Linked DNA regions of Homo sapiens: regions 1, 2 and 3 are each linked to region 4. Evidence: promoter capture Hi-C in 16 types of primary human blood cells and fetal thymus (Javierre and others, 2016). All regions are on one chromosome and are shown on one strand. Each heading gives the region's core, a stretch centred on a gene start or on the middle of the fragment in contact. The rest is flanking DNA. Distances are from core to core; before and after follow the strand shown.

The links. The method cuts DNA at HindIII sites, captures the fragments that hold promoters and counts their contacts. A CHiCAGO score of 5 or more calls a contact.
Region 1: a fragment that was not itself captured here is called in contact with the fragment with the promoter of MDFI in region 4 in 1 of 17 cell types (M2 macrophages); the score reaches 5.3 in M2 macrophages.
Region 2: a contact is called between a fragment that was not itself captured here and the fragment with the promoter of MDFI in region 4, in 10 of 17 cell types (M1 macrophages, naive CD8 T cells, activated CD4 T cells and 7 more). The highest score is 7.6, in M1 macrophages.
Region 3: a fragment that was not itself captured here is called in contact with the fragment with the promoter of MDFI in region 4 in 1 of 17 cell types (total CD8 T cells); the score reaches 5.1 in total CD8 T cells.

Annotation. Positions count from the first base shown.
Region 1 is chr6:41,458,732-41,461,435 of GRCh38, reverse strand. The region is part of intron 2 of LOC112267957 (a long non-coding RNA gene); the gene reads left to right. Among named protein-coding and RNA genes, the nearest start is that of LINC01276, 42 kb to the left of the region's middle. The HindIII fragment of the contact is 2,142 bases long and covers 363-2,504 here.
Region 2 is chr6:41,391,112-41,393,811 of GRCh38, reverse strand. No RefSeq gene overlaps it. Among named protein-coding and RNA genes, the nearest start is that of NCR2, 57 kb to the right of the region's middle. The HindIII fragment of the contact is 1,934 bases long and covers 319-2,252 here.
Region 3 is chr6:41,410,525-41,413,224 of GRCh38, reverse strand. No RefSeq gene overlaps it. Among named protein-coding and RNA genes, the nearest start is that of NCR2, 76 kb to the right of the region's middle. The HindIII fragment of the contact is 3,762 bases long and covers 1-2,700 here.
Region 4 is chr6:41,637,211-41,639,973 of GRCh38, reverse strand. MDFI (MyoD family inhibitor) reads right to left here and starts at 1,506. Exons shown (of 5, transcript NM_005586.4): 1 at 1,322-1,506; 2 at 1,149-1,235. The coding sequence starts at 1,224. The HindIII fragment of the contact is 14,281 bases long and covers 1-2,763 here.

The sequences.
Region 1 (2,704 bases), core at 184-2,683, 180 kb after region 4:
GTGTCCCTAGATAGCAGCTACCACTGGACAACATCTAGGGAGACCCTATTTCATCCTTCTTCTCCTCTCCCCACACATTTTCTCTGATATCAGCAGATCCACTTTTCCAGCTAGTTCCCTAAATGGCCAGAGATCCTGCAAGCTCCAGGGCTCCTGCTGTCAGCTCCTAAAGCATCTCATCACAGCCTCTTGCTCCACTGTTCTGTGCTTAAGAACATGGTGGGGCTGCCCACTAACCAAGATGGTTGACTTTGCACCAGTGGGATGTCAAGATCTTAAGAGGAGAACAGGAAGTGGGATCAGACCCCACCTTAAAAGGGAGGGACTTCCTAACTGTTCAGAGCTTTTTGATTGGCTAAGCTTTAGACCTCTTTGTAAATATCTGGGGAATACAAAGTGAGGGAATTCATTCATTCACCCATTAAAATCAGCAAACTTGTGTGTGTGTAGAGATGCACATATGTAACTCCAATGTCTAACTCAAAATTACACTTAAATTTTGTATGCCTTGGTTTTCTCATCTGCAAAATGGGGATAATAGCTGTGCCTACTTCACATGATTGTTGTGAGGATTAATGAGTTAATTTACAAAAAGCATTTAGAACACTGCCTAGCACTTAACAAGTATGATGTAAGGGTCAGATATCATTACTATTATTGTTATTGTTACTATTATTACTATTGCTATATATAATTTTTAAAATGTACTCTCCACCTGCTCACGAACGACTCTTCCCCGTAATTCCCTATCAGAGAGCATTTCCCCAGGCCCCTTTCCTAGGTTCCCACTTGGCTTAGCAAGGTTCTCAGTGCCTCCTGGATCCCCTTCTCAATGACCCCTTGACCCCACTCTGAGACCTCCACCTTGGTTCCAACCACTGGTGCCAGAGCAATTACCAGGGTTCTGGCAATCAAGGGTGGTGAGGGGAGGGAGCTAAAAATACACCCATTTTCCACAGTCCCATAAGCCTTCAATTTACCTGCTTTTATAAAAAGATGCTTCCTTAGGTGTCACCAGCAGAAGGTATAATTACAGCCTGGAAATGTTAATTCCCTTGCTCCTGATATGTGGATCGTTGCTCTGCAGGGCTCCTGTCCTCCTCAGAGCCCTGGGAGGGGAGATGGGCAGGCTGTGGGAGGGAGTCAGAGTGGGAGGCAATGCCAGGCCTGAAGGCCAGCAGGGACCACCCTAAATGAGAACAGGAAGCAGTGGAGGAGGTGCCTTCTCATACCTGGCTACCCCCAGGAATCTCCCAGGCGGCTGGGGCTGGAGAAGGTGGACACTGAGCTAGAGACAGATGTGGGGAAGTGGGAACTCTAAGGCACCTGTTTCAGATCAGTGAAACTGAGCTTTATCAATGCTCCCCAGAACTCACTTACCCTTTTTTTCAAATGAGCTAGTTGTACTGTTTTCCCCTCCAGGTCACAGTGAAGTGACACCGCTTTGGGAATGCAGAGAGGACCTATAGGTCACATAGACAGTCATTCCTAATGCATTCTCCCAGTGGGCTTGAGTGTTTGCTCTGGGGCAGGTAGTGGGCCAGGGTAACAGAGATCACAGTGCAGATAGGGAGGAGATGAAGATAGTCATGGTAGGGTGTGGCCAGGGCTGTCCATAAGTAAGCAAAGGGTGATCCAGGGACCAGGACGGAGCAGCCTCACTCAGACAAGGGATCATTCTTGAGCTTTTTTTTAGATGAATTTATTTTTTCTTGAAACAGATCTCACTCTGTCACCCAGGCTGGAGTGCAATGGCGTGATCTCAGCTCACTGCAACCTCCCCTTCCCGGGTTCAAGCCATTGTCTTGCCTCAGCCTCCTGAGTAGCTGGGATTACAGGTGCCCTCCACCATGCCTGGCTAATTTCTGTATCTTTAGTAAAGATGGGGTTTCACCATGTTGGGCCAGGCTGGTCTCGAACTCTTGACCTCAGGTGATCCGCCTGCCTCAGCCTCCCAAAGTGCTGGGATTACAGGTGTGAGTCACCATGCCCAGCCCATTCTTGAGCTTTGAAGGACAAGCAGGGTGTGGCTTGCTAGTCTCCTTGCCCCCATCTGTCCCCCTTCAGTTTATCCACACATGATAGCCAGAGGGATTATCCTAAAACCTAAGAGAGATCATGTCATTCTCTGCTTAGCATCCTCTAATGGTTCCCCATTTCACTCAGAATTATCACAGTGGCCTCAAGGCCCTATTCATCCTGCCTTCCGTGCTGCAGTTTCGGCCATAGCGCTCGGTAGCACCTACTGTTGTGTATTATAGTCATCCATGGGGCAGGACTCCTCGCTGATACCAAAATCCAGGCACCTCAGGTCCCCTATATAAAATGGCATAGTATTTCTACATAACCTGTGCACATCCTCCCATATACTTTAAATCATCTTTAGATTACTTATGATAACTAATACAATATAAATGCTATGTAAATAGTTGTTGTATTGTTTAGGGAATAATAACAAGAAAAAAGTCTATACATGTTCAGTACAGGTGCAACCATTGGAAGCTTAACTACATTTTCTGTCTATGTTTGGTTGAATCCACGATGCAGATGTGGATATGAGGGGTGACTTCTTTGTTTTGTTTTAGTCTCTATCCCTCACCATGATATAAAACTCCATGAGGACAAGGATTTTTGTCTGTTTTGTTCCCAGGGTTCAGAACAGTGTCAGGCACACAGTAGGTGTTCATTAAGTGTTTGTGAATGA
Region 2 (2,700 bases), core at 36-2,535, 250 kb after region 4:
CTCAGTTAAACCAAAGGACTTATTCCTGCAGCAAAGATCAGGTTAAGGATATTGTCTCTCTAATAATCCTCTTGCTACAGATGGCCTTACAGTAGCTGATATTTAACAAATGGGGATTGGCATGGAGCTAAAAAAGCAAAAAAGAACTCAAACAGATTTAAGAACCATGTATAGGGAATTTTGGAAGTGGTAAGTGGTGCATGTAACCAATGGGAAGCAAATAGATCAGAAATCTTTTTGCAGGAAGAAATTGCATTTCTCAAGAAATCACAAAGATGGTCTTTAAAAAGTTCAGAAAAACACGTGGACCCTCAAGCTTCCATGAACCAAAAGTGCTACAAAAGCAGTGGGAACTCCCAAAAGGGGGATACTACTAATAACTCCTTCAGATCTGGCCACAGGAGATAATAGACAAGGGAGAATTTCCCAGAGGGCAGAGCAGGGGCCATGGAAGGCAAGGAGACTCCTCCCAGAGAAAGGATACAGGGTCTAATGCAGTAACCCCCTCTATTGCCAGGGCAGAGGGTCTTCACAATGCTTGTCTGGCAGGGTTCCATCATTGTTATGGACAAGGCACTGCCTGTGTCTCCCAATCTTAATTGCAATTATCCTATATTTTGGGTGTGTGCAGGGGTGGGGAGTAGAGCACAGTTCGTAAGTCTGTGGACCAAGAGAAATTCCATCAGACTTGTTGGAAAGGACTGTACATCACCTAGAAGTTCTGGACACTGAGCTGAATGCAGAGGCTAGATGGGGTTTTGCTTTGACTCCCTTGGAAAGGGACTGGATGTCTTCTACATGTGGCAAGAAGGCTACACACACCACTGACCGTGGAAGAGAGACTGCTGGCTGGGCATCCAAATCTGTTATTTCTTCTTCCTCAGCATGAAAGTAAGGTTATATTTCTCAGCTTTCCTTGCAGGGAGGTGTAGCCACAGGGCTAAACTTTCCCCAGTGGAATGTGAGTGGAAATGATATGTGTCAATTTCAGGACAGGTCCATAAAGACTTCATCTGTGCAGTTTTCTGTGCTCTTTCCTGTTTTACTGGCTGGCTGCAGATATGACAAGAAGACTCCAGAGGAAACATCATAACCTGTGGTCCACAGACCCTAAATTCAGGGAAATCTATGAACTTGGATGGGAAAAGTACATCTTTATTTTTCCTGACCTTAAACTAGTTGAGCATTTCTTTCTATTATAAATGTAGACAATAAACCACAGTGGTGTTAGCAGTATCTGTGACTTTGTCACCAGTAGAAATCACAGATATTTTCATATCACATTACAGTTGTTGCAGATAGCTCAAAATATCATTACATTCATCACTACTTAGAAACCGCGGCAGTTATTAGACCTGCCACTAGACTGCACATAATTGCAGTCTTCCTGTTGATAGACAGCTGTGCCACACAACTGGCCGATGCTGAGCAGGGGAGGCATTCCACCACCAAATGTGGAAGTCACATTTGCTCGCAATCTATGTTGCTTTCCATAGTCCTTGCCTCCAATTGTTGGTCAATTAATATGTGGAGGTAGATGCATTGTTTGTTAGAGGTTTGCAAAACTGGATGATTCAAATAAGAATTATTTATTTATTTATTTTCGGAGATGGAATCTTGCTCTGTCACCCAGGCTGGAGTGCAATGGTGCGATCTTGGCTCACTGCAACCTCTGCCTCCTGGGTTCACGCAATTCTCCTGCCTCAGCCTCCCGAGTAGCTGAGATTACAGGTATGCGCCACCATGCCTGGCTAATTTTTGTATTTTTAGTAGAGATGGGGTTTTGCCATGTTGGCCAGGCTGGTCTCGAACTCCTGACCTCATGATCCACCTGCCTTGGCCTCCTACAGTGCTAAGATTACAGGCATGAGCCACCGTACCAGGCCGTCAGATAAGAATTCTTAGCCCTCTTCAATACTGAGAGGTGTGCAGGCCACAAGTGTAGTCAGTCTTCACAATGATATATCTTTAAAAAATAAACGTAGCTTAAACGCACTTATGTTTTAAATGTTTTGTCTTACTATTTATTCAATTAATACAGAAACACATTTATTACTATATCACAATGGTTTTTATTTATTTTGATAGTTATATGTCCATATAATTGTTTTGCTTTATACTACTATGTGTTTTGTTTTATGGATTTAAAAATGTTATCAGAAAGGGTCTGCCAGATAGTTAAAGGGGTCCAGGGCCCCAAAAAGGTTAGGAGGGGGCCTGTGGTATGGCTGCGCCTCAAGGTGGAAGAAGCTTGGGTCTCACAGAGGAGTGCCTGCCTATTACATGAACATCCATCCAGGACTACTATGTGAGCAGAAATAAACTTCTGTTGTGTTAACTTGGGAGCATATCCTCCCGAATGCAAAGATTGATCCATTGAATTTTTTTTCTTTTTTTTTTTTTGTGGTGATGGTGACTCACTATGTTGCCCATGCTGATTTTGAACTCCTGGCCGCCAGTTATCAGCTTCCCAAAGCGCTGGGATTGCAGGCATGAGCCACTGTGCCCAGCCCCTACTGTTAGTTTTGAGAAGTCCAGTGCCATACTAATTATTAATCTTCTGTATCATTTCCCTGCTTTCTGTAACTCTCACCCTCTCACCAATGTCTTTTCTTTTCTTTTCCTTCCTTTATTTCCCTCCCTCCCTCCCTCCCTCCCTTCCTTCCTTCCTTCCCTCCCTCCCTCCCTCTCTCCCTCTCT
Region 3 (2,700 bases), core at 85-2,584, 230 kb after region 4:
GAGAGCCGAGGTCTTTGCCTTGAAGAGTCCTCGGATCTCCTTTTCTTGAAAAAAAGGGGCAGCCCTACCATGCTGGGTCACACTGTCTTTCTCCCCCAACTCCCTGCCTCCAACCTCAGCTCTAGGCCAAGAGTCTGGCTGGGTGCTAACCCCAGCTCCCCAGGGAAAGGCCGATGCCTGTGGGTATAGGTCACCTGGAACCTAGTCTAGAGAATTCCATCACACACCTGGCCCTGCCCTCAGTTTACACAGGGGAACAAGGAGAGAGAGAAAATGACAAAGCCGAGGATGAAGGAATGAGAAGAAAAAGAGGAAGAGGAAAGAGAGAATGGAAAGAGGGAAAGGCCACCTGAGCTCAAGGCTCCAACCTGCACCAAGCTGGGGGATGGGCAGGAAGAGACACAAGGGTCGGGACCCCAGGGGCTTAAGAGAGGGAACAGAGGACAGCCAGCTGCAGAGGAGCCCAGTCCTACTGACGGATGCACAAGGAGGCCAATGGCATCAGAGAAGCCCGAATGGGTTGCTTGGAGGTGAGTTCTGAGGTGGACTGAGACAGGGGGTAGGGCTTGGCAGAAGGTGCCTTGCATGATTAGGTCTCCACAGGTTCCAGGGGGAGCTGGCACCCTGAGTAGTGTCCTCTTCTGAAGCTACCCACACTCCCACCTCTTTTTGCCAGCCTTTTATTAGGCATCCTTCAAGCCCAAGCACTGCCTCCTCTGGGAAGCCCTCTCATACTGCCCCCAGCCTGCTTTAGGAGTTCTGTTCTGGGCACCCTGAACATTCTGTGCTGAGTCTGATGTGACATCGAAAACCCAGTCTTTATGCCTTGATTATTCTCTTGAAGTCAGTGGCAGTGACTTATTTATTTCTGTGTCTCTGGGGTATAGCACAAGTCTAGGCAATAGTAGGGGCCAAAATGTCTTTGATGAGTCAATTGCCATCAGCCTCTTCCTTTGTGCCAAGAGGAGCACCATTAGCAGCCCAAGGCTGGGAGTTTGGCTACTCTGGAGCCAGAAAAGGGCGCGAGGACAGCCCTCCTGGCCAGAAAGAACACCCAGGGAGGCCTGCCGCTGATGACTAAAGTTCTCCCATTAGCCCATCTTGTTAGGTTACGGCTGAGTGGTGTCATGAAAGGACACAGACAGGCAGGCCAGAAGTAATGAGTTCCAGCTCTGCCCTGACCCACTAACCGGCTAGGGGATCTTAGGCTGGGTATTGCCTCTCTTTGGCCTCAGTTTCCCCAATATGCTGAGGCTCTTGAACAGGATGCATTCTCAGGTCCTGCTGAGGCTGTGGCCTACATTGAACTGTGCCAGCCCTGAGGTCATACCTTAGCTCCTCTGAGAGACTTCCCTACCCAGTCACAACTGAGACTGGGCTGAGAGGACAGGGAAGAGAAGGATGAGGGGTGGATGGGGTAGGGCTGCTGTGGAGGGACTTAGCAGGGAAAGAGCCTAGGGAAGGCAGGTGAGAGGGAAACATTGGTCCACATTGCCCATCGGGCCGCCTGCCAGCCCCCAGCAGGCAGCCACGAGGGTCCAGGGAGTGGTGGCCTTGTGGGGCACTCACTGGATCTGGCATTTTTTTCCAGACCAGTGGGGTACCTAATGTGTTAGGCACCCTTAGTAAATCATTTTTAACACCTCCCATATTATCAAATTATCACCATGATGATGAATAACAAGTAAATAATAATGGCCAGAAAAGTCAGACAGTGTAACTGTTCTTTTATTCAACTCTGTATAATTGTATCAGGAAATAAACAAATACTACAGTACAAAAAGACAAAAGCAACTGATACTTGAAAATTATATTAATTTTGGGGGGTGGGGAGTAGGGGGAAGAAACACATGAAGAAAGACTCCCAAGTTTGCCGTGAGCCAAGATTGTGTCACTGCATTCCAGCCTGGGTGACAGAGCCAGACCCTGTCTCAAAAACAAAAACAAAAACAAAACAAAACAAAAGAATAACAACAAAAAGGAAAGCCTCCCAAAAGAGTAAACTGCAAGTTTCAGAGAATGATTTGCATGGAGAATAACAGAATTGAAGTAGCTTGAGTCTGTTACTTTGTCTTTGCAATCACTGTGCATCATTGTTGATTTTGAATCTACTGTTTAAAGGCAGGGATGTGCAGAACTATAGGATTTGAGACACAAACTGTGGCTGAAGCCAGCTCTAATGAATTTGAATTTAAACTTAATCTCAAAATGAAGAGTGTAGCTGAGTCCTGTGTATTCTGGGCTGACTATATACATGAGAGTCCTTCAAATTAACTATCAGGTAGTGTACAATCTTTACTAAAGGATAAGTAATAGAAATGTGCTAATTTGAAACTCAACAGTCACCACAGTAATTGCTTAGAACATAGCACAACAGACGAGTTTTTTTTTTTTTTTTACTTCAGGGAGGAGTATTTTATTACTGACACAAAATGGCTGGCGCATGGTGATAACAGAAAAAGCACATGACTTTTAGTAGATTTTATTATTGTTTTAAAATTCCCTACAGACAACAAACTTTTTCATTGCCTGCTCCTGCAGACACCCCCCCTACACCCCTGTTCTCCACTGGGGTTTGCGTATTTGCAGCCCCATATTCCAGAAACTTTCATTCCAAGCCCTTCCTATTCCAGGCAAGTTAAGAAAACAGAACAGAGGCAAATAGCAATGCATTCTAGTCAGGATTGTTGTTGTTACTTA
Region 4 (2,763 bases), core at 257-2,756:
TGTCCTCACTCTGGTTTAGAGGACCCCCCACCTCCACAACTAGGCGTCCATACCAAGTAGGTGGGGAGTGGAGAGGGGCCTCCTAGAACAGGCAGGCAGGCCGGCTTCGAGGGCGCATGTGGAGGCTCAGGCCAGAGAAGGGAAGGAGCTTGTCCAAGGCAAGGCAGGGAGTTCGTGTCAGAGGTTCAGGAACAGACCTTCATTATTCAGAGTCAAAGAGGGGAAAGGGGGAATGGCGCTGGTGGGGAGGAAGGCAACGACTTAGACAGTGGAGATTCCAATTATGAAATCCGGGTCCACACTCCTGCACGCGGTTCCCCTGGCCCTGAACACATCCCAGAGGTTCCTGACTTCTCCTTGACCCGGACTTCCATTTGGGAGCTTCGGCTTAGGCATCTGGCCAGTGAGGGGAAGGGACTGAGAACCAGGGCCGGCGAGGCCCCTACTCCAAACCCCTTCAGGGAGTCACAAACCGTACTTGGCGTGAGAGGCTCCCCCAGGAATCGCGGGTAGGTTACAGACGGCGCCAGGCGCGGGACGGGGCATTTCACTTGGGCTGAAGACACTGGGTTGGGGTGCGTGTGTGTGCACAGGGCAGGGGCGGCGGGGACTGGCCGGCACGAGAGGGAAGGAAGGCGAGGGAGAAGGGATGGCAAGAAAGAGGGGAGGGGCTGGGTCCTGCAGCCGCTCGCGGCAGACAAAAGTTTTCGGGAAGCGCTGGGCTCTGGTTGGGCTGGGGGAAGGGAAGTAGAGAAAGATTCAGACAACGCCCCCTCCCCCACACCAGGCCCCCACAAATATTTACACACTGGGCAGAAACAGTTGAGACACAAATCCCAGACGGACAGACACCGCGGAGTGTATGTGTGTGTGTTTGTGTGTGTGTGTGTGTGTGTCTGGTGTCGGGAGTTGCGGGGAGTTGGAGCCAACTTGGCGCAGCCGCAGCCTCTGTTCAGGGCCCTGCCTCCCTCGCCCAGCCCCCTACTCTCCTTGGACCAAGTCCTCAAACCCAGACTTTTCGTCCCTACCCCCACCAAGCTCCCTGGAACGGTCTCCCCGCGTCTGGGGACGGAGAGGAGAACTAATAACTGGCCCCTTCAGCCGCCCACCCGCCCCTGTCCAGCTTCGCTCGCCACTCCCGGTCCTACCTGGGCCCGGGGCTGCGCTGGGGGCTCCATAGGGCGCGTCGCAGCCAGAGGGGCGCTGGCCGCTCACCTGGTACATCGGCCCCGGACCTGCGGAAAACAGGGCTCAGCGGGCGGCGCCGGAGGCGGGCAAGGGGCGATTCCCCCGCAGATGCGCGCCTCCCACGTCCACTCACTCGTGCGAGCCGTGCTACGCTCTCTTCCAGCCGGATCCCCGCGCGGGGCCCGCCATGCGCGCCTGCTCCGGGCGCCCCTGCCCAGGTCCCGCTGGCTCCCGGGTGCTCGCCTGGCGCCCCTTCCCCTCTCACTCGCTGCTTTCTCCCATTTCGGCGCCAGCTCACGCCGTTCGCCCCTTCCTTCTTCCTTCTCTCCCTCCAGCCCCCCTCGCTCCTCCCCTACTCGCCTCTCCCCTCCCCTCTTCCCTGGCCCACCCTCTCCCCGCCCCCTCCTCGCCTTCTCAGTCGCCCCTCTGCGGGTCCCCTCCCCCGCGCCGGGCTTGGCCCAGCCAGGAGCCGGACACGTCTGTCCGCGGGGCGCCCGAGGCCCGAGCCCCCACAGGAAGCCGGCTGGGCGCGCTTCCTCCGCGCTCTCGGAGCGGGGCCTCAGTCTCCCCGACTCCCTGCTCTCTGAGGCCCGGAGATCCGCGGGCTGCACGTTTTCCTTTGCCTGTCCAAACTCTGCAAAAGTTTCTGGAAAATCAGGAGAAAGAGAGAAACCTCAACCACTTCGTGGAACTGTCTGAATAATTGCGGCCTCCAAATCTCTTTGCCCCAAAGATGGGCGCGATCAAGTTTCTCAGTCACGTTTTACCCACCCCCTCGGTCTCCTCCCGGGGTCCTAAGCCAGGGACAGGGATCTGGGCTCCCAGGCCACCCGCCCACAGCGCCAGAGTTGTCTGTCCGGGAAATCCGGTTAGTGACCAACCAGCCTGCCCTGTGCCGCAGCAGCCCAGAGCATCCTCGACCCTCCTGCCCCTACCAGCTGTGCGTGGGAATGTGTGTCAGAAAACCGACTTTGGGGGCAAAGAGAGGTCCTCCGAATTCAGCCCTTCTTTGGGATCCAGACTGAATCCGAGGGCTTCTAAGATGAGGGTTCGGGGAGAAAGGGGAGGGAGGGAGCCTCTCCCGGTGGGGCCAGCCGGGCGGCGCGTCTGGATGGTGAGCCGTGGTGGTAGGAAGAAGCCGCTGCCAGGCAGTCCAAGAGGGTTCAGGGGCCCTCAGCGCGACCCCGGAACCTGGTCCCCGAGAATGGGGAAGACTTTGGAGCCTGCGGCTCTCCAGGTGGGGCTGGGCGGGCCCGTGGGATGATGCTCAGGTGGGGCAGCCCCCTGGGGTGACAGCGTCTCGGCCGTACTTGTCTAGGGCCGCCTAGGAGCCGCGTCTGGGCTCCCCGCCACGAGGGCCAGTGAGCACACTGGAAGGCAGCGGCGGCACCAGGCCACCTTTTCTAGTCCCGAGTCCAGCCGGGTCTGGAAGTGGAGAGCTGGGACGCAGGAGGCCGGGCGTCCCAGCTCCCCACTTCTTGGACTCTCCTAGCCCCCATAGTCGCTACTTACGGCTATCGCAGGTCCTGGGGCGCCGTCGGGGCCAGGACCGGGATGGCCCCCACGGCGCCGGCA